Linked DNA regions of Homo sapiens: region 2 is linked to region 1. Evidence: promoter capture Hi-C in 16 types of primary human blood cells and fetal thymus (Javierre and others, 2016). All regions are on one chromosome and are shown on one strand. Each heading gives the region's core, a stretch centred on a gene start or on the middle of the fragment in contact. The rest is flanking DNA. Distances are from core to core; before and after follow the strand shown.

Region 1 (3,824 bases), core at 100-2,599:
TCCTCCTAGGGTTATGGGTTTTATTAAACAATGCACTTATCTCAGTTGAAATGAGGACAACCTGCACAGCAACATCCACGTTGTAATACGTGGAGGTAATGACAACCAGGTCTGTACTGCCACCCGGTCAACGAGAGTTTATAAGATGCATCTTGATTTCACAGATGTTAAAATGTGGGGAAAAACATGGCTTAGCATCTGTGAAATACATAATGTCATGGTGCTTCGATCAATGTATAGTGGATTTTCTATAATTCCAAAGTTGGGATGTGGAAAAAACTTGCCTTAAAAGAAATCCGTACTTTTTGGTATGTTAAATCTAAGGGAGGTTATAAATCGAACAGTTGCAGGAGCCCAACTTTAAAGTGAGAGAAAGATGTAGTGGGGGAAGAAGGAGCTGAGAAATACAGAAAGAATAAAAACAATGGACGCAAAAGCAATAGGCAAGTTTTTTTGTTGTTGTTCTTTAAAGGGACAAAATCACAAGCTTACTAAAAAGGGTAACGACAATTACAGCTACAGCCAAAGAGCAAAGTAGCTCATTTTAAGATTATTTTTACATTAGACATAAGCTTTGCAACAGGGCCTCTCTCCATTTTAGTAAAATTGGTTTAGGTGTTTCAGAACCTTCTTATCGCAGATTATAATTTCATATTCAGTAGTGTGATTCATTTAGGTTTGTGATCTCCGTTACACTTAAACTGTTTTTGCTCACAACTATATTCGTAATGGGGTAGCGCAGTGAATATAATTGCATGACCTAATGTTGTTTGTTAATATTTGTAACCCTTTAATGTGCAGGATAGATCTTTGAATACCTAACTTCCTTAAGCCTCAGTTTTCTCAATTTGTCAAAGGGGGACAATAATAGGATTCATTCAGAGTTACTCTGAAATGAAATGCAATAATGTATAGAAACCTTAAACGGTGCCTAGCACAGAGCAAGCGCTCATTGAACAGCAGCTTTTGTGAGATGCACCTCACTATGAAATAGGCATGGAAACGGAAACGACTAGCTCTCTTAGCCCCGTTTTCTTTTCTACATTCATACGTTGCTTTGAATTGGCAAGCAGTTTTTATTTGGACCCTCAAACGCTAAAACCTTGGTCTCTACTTCGCGTCCCAACTGTGCTTATGAGTCTAGTCATTTTTGTTGGAACGCGATAGATTTCCCAAGCTCCGGAGTGGGGCCCTGACCAGGGAGGAAGTGTCCGCTTTAAGAGCTTCTGGAGGGGAGGAAGGGGCTCCTCCGCCCGGGTGGGAGAGTGAGTGAGTGGGTGGGCGGGCAGGGGGCGGTCCCGCCGCTCCTGCGTCAGAAGGGGTCTGGTTTTCGCACCTTCCCTGACGTCAAACCTCCATCAGGGTTGCAACGCCACGTTGCCTTGGATGCCTGCGTGAGTGGAGTCGCGACTCGGGGCCCGCGTCCTGAGAGACGCGCTCCCGCGCCGCTTCTCGCCTCCGGACCGCAGGGGCCGAAGTCGCCTATTTCTGGCTCCGCGGGCAGCGGGGCCGTGGCGCTCGGACGGTCTGGGATTCGGGCGCCGCCGCGGAACCGGAATAAGAAGGGAGAGCGCCCGGCTCGGTCCTCGGTCTCCACCGCGGCCCGGAAGGAATCCGGGCAGCCTCCGCGGAGGTGAGTGCCGCGGCGGGGGCGGGGCGCGGCCGGGGCGACGCCCGCGGGCGGGGCCTGCTCGCCGGGCGCCCGGGGCGCCTTCTTCCCGAGGGACGCCAGGACCGCTCGCTGGGCTCCCGCGGCCGCCTCGCAGGTCCTCGGCTTCCCCCCACCCCGCGTCCCTTTCTGCCCCTGCTGCGTGAGAGGTGTCGGCGGCTCCGGGCCGGGATCGAGGTGGCGGGGCGAGGGAAGGAGGTGGGGCGCAGGCTGCATTGCGCTTCTGTCCGGGGCCCTGGGTCAGAGGGGCCGGCGGACGAGGCCTCGGGTCCGGGCTTGGGGAGGGGGCGGTCTGCGGGGTCGGATTGAGGGCCGGGAACCCGCGGAGTCTTGCCCCTGGGCACCTGTGGGGCCGAGATCCCGAGCCACCTGTCCACACACCCCCTTCCCCCAGTGCCCTGCGTTGGGTCCAGCTGGCCCCAGACCTAGGCCTTTCCCAGCCTCGGGCGATTATAGTTTATTTGAAAACGTTTGATTTTTGTGTTAATGATTCTTTTACTACCGCCGTGCAACAGTTGTGTAAATGTGGTCGTGTTACGCCATCGTTTTTACTTGCTCCTAAGAAGGGCCTTACCAGCTCCTGCGATTATCTCACGCGATGATTCTTGGTAGCTCGTGAAAAAAATGCATAACAAGATACTGGTTCTCAAGGGACCAAAACCCCACCCCCACCTAAAGGAAATAGCTTGTTTTTGTTTTTCTTTTTTACAGCAATATGCTACGTGTGGGGAGGGGGAGGGACGATGGAGGCAGCCTGTAGCGATCTCATCCTCGAGAGAATCTGCTAACAATTTGGGGGGTATCTTTCCTTCCTTTTTAATTAATACACAAACATATATACGTGTGTTACATAAGGGGTGTTTATTTGCTTTTTTCACTTAATACGTGGAAGACCTTTTCTCTATCGTTTGAACCTAAAGCCTAGAAGGCAAGAAAGCAACTCGTTAGAGAGTTGATAAAGTATCACTGCAGTGGCCAGTGATTTGGATAGAAATAAGCTGAATTCAGGGTAAGAACTGGTTTCTATAAAATATGGTTTACTCTGCATAATAATTGGAGGCAGTGTTTTTTCAAACTGAGTTTTTTCAGCCGGTTCGTGAATGGTGAAATTAATTTAGTCATGACTAGCATTTAAAAAAAAATAAGATCGCATAAAAAAATCAGAATGCATTATATGTAATGAGAGTATTGTTTTGTGAAAAATATTTTAACTGTGCGCGTGTGCATTGTGAAATTTAGTGGGTCGTGACTAGCATTAAAAAAAGTAAGATCGCATAGAAAATATCAGACTGCATTACATGTAATGAGAGTATTGTTTTGTGAAAAATCTTTTAAGTGTGCGTATGTGCCTGTGCGTGTGTGCTCGGTTGTAATTAAAAATTTATTGGTTCCTGTGTGTCATGTTAAATAATCTTGAGAGTCGCTAATCCAAGGTACTGTCAGCACTCAAATGAGCAAGATGCAATTAAACTAGACATTAGTTTTATTTTTTCTTTGGAATAGTGGTGATGTTGATTGCAGCAAATAAGAGTCCTAATTATTTGTTTTCACCTAATATTAAAACAAGTAGTATTCCTAAAAATACAGAGAGGAAGTGTCTAAGTCGTTAAGAGGTTAAAGCATAAACTACTCAAATTGACCAGTGATCACATCTCAGTTACGCTGGTTATTGGTGTGAGACCTGCAACAAGATACCTCTTTTCTCTCAACCTCAGTTCCCTGATTTGTTAAATGGGAATTAATCATGGCAGCTACCTTATAAAGCTGTTTGTTATTTAGATGAGATAATGCACAGGAAGCTGTTGACAGAGCGCCTGGCTCAGATTAAGTACTAAGTATTAGCTATTATTATTTTATTAAGACTGAATAGAGGTGTCTAGGATAATGCTTGTCACCAGAGGAAAGCCAGCATAGCGTGGATAATCCAGAAAAGGGGAAAATTGAAAATTAGTAGTGTTGTGTGGAGGAACTGACACTGAATTAGTGTGGTCTTTTTATGCATTCGGCCATTGTTTTGTCATTGCTCCTCAATTGTTTCCCTACTGCTGGACGGAAAATTTAGATTGTCTTATTCAGAAAACCAAATGCCTTTCTATTGTCTTTCCTTATTATTATTATTTTTCAAATTAAGTTGATGTCTCTTTTGTCAGGCAGT
Region 2 (4,112 bases), core at 61-2,560, 1.8 Mb after region 1:
CAAGCGGCTTCTCGCGGTCCCACTCTGAAATGCTTCCGCCGGCGGCCCGGGCAGCCAGAGCCGGACACACAAGGTTCCAGGCCGCGAGGACGAGTCTTTCCTGCCCGAGGGACCCGGCAGCTAGGCAAGGCCTGACCGCACCCGCCAGGCCTCCTTATTTCTTTGCTTTCTTATATACAGTTCCTCTTGTACACATTGTGAAAGCAATGGCGTGTGTCGTGGAGTCTCCTCACTGCTCCACCCAACGCCAAAATGGGTGTTTGCGATTGGAAAATGTCACTTAGAACATGTCAGGATCGGGCTGGTTTTTAGCAGCTCCCTTGTCTAAGGGAATTAATTACTCAAATAAGTTCTTTCCAAAAGTGGGACTATTCTGGAGATTGCTTCTCATTTCCGGTTTTGGGGCTGCAGTGAAAATCCGTTTTCACTGTCCTTTCCTACGCAGGTTGAAAAGGGGTGGTTTTGAGGTGAGGTCTTCACCCCCACTTGCGGATTCCCAGCAAAATAGGGTGTGCGTGTGTGTGCACGCGGGCAGGACTGCCTGGTAAGACCGCCCACATCCCACCTGCAGTGACTGTGGTCGCTTTGCAGGGATATGCTGGTCTGATTGGACAGACCTTCCTTGCAGTTTCCTGTCTGTTTTCCATCATAGCACACTTCTTAGCCATTTTCTCACTTTATAAGTACACACTTATTTATCAGTTTTATTGGTTTTCCCACGCTCACCCATCTCACCTATAAACTCCCTGAGGGCAGGCACTATTTCAGTTTCACTCACCACCATCTAGTAGGCACCTAGCACAGGCCCAATGTATATATATCTGAATAAATGAATGAACAAAGGAATGATAAAAAAAAAAAAAGGTCAAAGGGGTCAGGGATGAAACAGAAATCTAAAACTCTGATTCCTCTTCCCACCTTCCCACCCTCCAGAAGATTAATAAGCAAATCTTTAAGCTTTGAGTTAAGAAAAAATTTCCTTTGGTTGATATTCAAAGTTTAAATAAGCTTTCTTTAAACCCTGCAATTTGAGGTACTTTTTTTTCTGTTTTGCTAGAGACAGGATCTCACTCTGTGCCCCGGCCAGAGTGCAGTCGCACGATCATAGCTCACTGCAGCCCTGAACTCCTGGGTTCAAGGGATCCCCCCAACTCAGCCTCCTGAGTAGCTAGGACTACAGGCACGCATCACCACAACGTGGCTAACTTCTTTTTTCTTTCTTTCTCTTTTTTTTTTTTTTGTAAAGGCAAGGTCTCCCTGTGTTGCCCAGGATGATCCTGAACTCCTGGCCTCAGGCAATCCTTCTTCCTTGCCTTCCAAAGTGCTGGGATTACAGGTGTGAGCCACCTCACCTGGCCAGAGGTACATTTTTTGTTTTGTTTTGTTTTAATTACCAAAAGAGAATATTTGCAGTATTCTCTTTTGCCTCAGGACTTTGTACATGTGATTCCCTCTGATGAGAGTTCTCACTCCTGGCCCATCCTCTTACTTAGGCTGGCTAATTTCTCTTTGCTCTTTAAGAAGCAGGTAACAGGTGCTTGGTCTCTCAAGTCACTTGCTTGGTCTTCTTCCAAGTGTTCTTTTCTTCTTTTCCTTCCCTTCATTACTACTCTAAAGCTTTTTAATAAACTTTCACTCTAAAAAAAAAAAAAAAAAAGGCCGGGTGTGGTAGCTCGTGCCTGTAATCCACGCACTTAGGGAGGCCAAGGCGGGTGGATCGCTGGAGGCCAGCGGTTCGAGACCAGACTGACCAACATGATAAAACCTCATCTCTACTAAAAATACAAAAATTAGCAGAGCATGGCGGTGCACGCCTGTAATCCCAGCACTTTGGGAGGTCGAGGCGGGTGGATTGATTGAGGCCAGCAGTTCGAGACCAGCCTGGGCAACATAGTGAAACCCTGTCTCTACTAAAACGAAAATTAGCCAGGCATGGTGGCACACGACCTGTAATCCCAGCTACTTAGGAGGCTGAGGCACTAGAATCGTTTGGACTCAGGAGACGCAGGTTGCAGTGAGCTGATATTGAGCCAGTGCACTCCAGCCTGTGCAAAAGAGCGAGACGCTGTCTCAAAAAAAAAAAAAAAGCAGATGACATCACACCTCTTCTGGAAACCTTGCCTGATAGGGGAACCTGCTCCTTTTATGCACTCCTAGAGGATCTCATGTGTTCCTTTATAAATGTACCCATTACATTGTGCTACACAGATCAGTCTTCCATTGGATTGGTGGTTCTCAAAATTCACATGGAACAGAATCTTCTAGGATGGTGTTTCTCAAACTTTAACGGGTAAGAATTCTGTCAAAATGCAGAATCTGATACAGTAAGTCTGGGATGGGGCCTCTCCAACAGTCATGATCTCCTAAGTGATGCTGCATTTTGAGTGTCAAGGTTCTTGAATGCTGTTAAAAATGCAGATTCCTAGGCCGGGTGTGGTGGCTCATGCCTGTAATCCCAGTACTTTGGGAGGCTGAGGCGGCCGGATCACCTGAGGTCAGGAGTTTGAGACCAGCCTGGCCAACATGGCGAAACACTGTCTCTACGAAAAATACAAAAAATTACCCGGATGTGGTGGCTGGTGCCTGTAGTCCAAGCTACTTGGGAGGCTGAGGCAGGAGAATTGCTTGAACCCAGGAGGCAAAGGTTGCAGTGAGCCGAGATCATGCCATTGCACTCCAGCCTGGGCGACAGAGTGAGACTCCATCTCAAAAAAAAAAACAAAAACAAAAACAAAAAACAAAAAAACCCCCGCAGATTCCTGGATCACACATTCACAGATTTTTATTCTGAAGATCTACCTACATTAGGGTCCTGAATTCCATAATTTCTACAAGGTCCTCAGTGCTTCCCAAGTTGGTGATCCATGGACCATCCTTTGAGAAAAACTCTTTCAGACTAGTCTTGAAGTCTGATGTCAGGAGTTTGTGATTTGTCATTGTTTTTCATGGATTAAGCATGAAGTCTGGGACATAAAATGCATTTAAAAAACTGCTTTTGGCCTGGCACAGTGGCTTACGCCTGAAATTCCAGCACTTTGGGAGGCCAAGGCAGGCGGATCCCTTGAGGACAGGAGTTCAAGACCAGCCTGGCCAACATGACAAAACTCTGTCTCTACTAAAAAATACAAAAATTAGCCGGGTGTCATGGCACACATCTGTAATCCCAGCTACTCGGAGGCTGAGGCAGAGAATCACTTGAACCTGGGAGGCGGAGGCTGCAGTGAGCTGAGATCATGCCACTGCACTCCAGCCTGGGAGATAGAGCAAGACTCCATCTCAAAAAAAAAAAAAAAACAAAAAAAGCTGTGTTTGCAAAATGACTGATTTTATTCACTCTCACTAATACAGATCCTCAGCACCAGAATTAAGGGGATGATCCCAGAAAAAGGCTGAAAGATTTAGGGCTGAGAATAATCTCAGCTAGGCAGCCACTGGCTCATGGACCTCTGTATGTCAGCTAGGAGCTCTATATGTCAGCTAGGCCTCTGTATGTCAGCTAGGAACATTTTGCCTCTCTAAATGTAAAATATTTAAGTTCATATCTCCATTCAAAAGGTTGTCTGCTAAAAGCAGCTCCATCATCTTCTTTTGCCTTTTTTTTCTTTTTTTGAGATGGAGTCTGGCTCTGTTGCCCAGGCTGGAGTACAGTGGCGCAATCTCGGCTCACTGCAACCTCCGCCTCCTGGGTTCAAGTGATTCTCCTGCCTCAGCCTCCTGAGTAGCTGGGACTACAAGCATTTGCCACCACACCCAGCTAATTTTTGTATTTTTAGTAGAGACGGGGTTTCACTATGTTGGCCAGGATGGTCTCCATCTCTTGACCTTGTGATCTGCCCGCCTTGGTCTCCCATAGTGCTGGAATTACAGGCGTGAGCCACCGCACCCGGCCTTCTTTTGTCTTTTAGAGCAATTTTGGATTCACAGGAAAATTGAGCAGAAAGTACAGACTTCCCATATATCCCCTGCTCCTCAAACCCACAACCTCTCCCACTATCAATCCTGCACCACAGTGGTACACTTATTACAATCAATGAAACTGCACTGACAGACACATCATTACCACCCATGTAATGTAAAGTTCATAGTTTACATTAGGGGAACCATTTTTTTGA

Evidence for each region. Contacts are between HindIII fragments. The CHiCAGO score rates a contact against its expected background, and 5 or more counts as called.
Region 2: a fragment that was not itself captured here is called in contact with the fragment with the promoter of ZDBF2 in region 1 in 1 of 17 cell types (total CD4 T cells); the score reaches 5.3 in total CD4 T cells.

The regions. Positions count from the first base shown.
Region 1 is chr2:206,273,314-206,277,137 of GRCh38, forward strand. It overlaps ZDBF2 (zinc finger DBF-type containing 2), which reads left to right and starts at 1,350. Exons shown (of 5, transcript NM_020923.3): 1 at 1,350-1,633. RefSeq lists silencers at 1,245-1,304, 1,585-2,044 and an enhancer at 1,708-2,207. The HindIII fragment of the contact is 6,855 bases long and covers 571-3,824 here.
Region 2 is chr2:208,025,527-208,029,638 of GRCh38, forward strand. PLEKHM3 (pleckstrin homology domain containing M3) reads right to left here and starts at 1. Exons shown (of 8, transcript NM_001080475.3): 1 at 1. The HindIII fragment of the contact is 609 bases long and covers 1,007-1,615 here.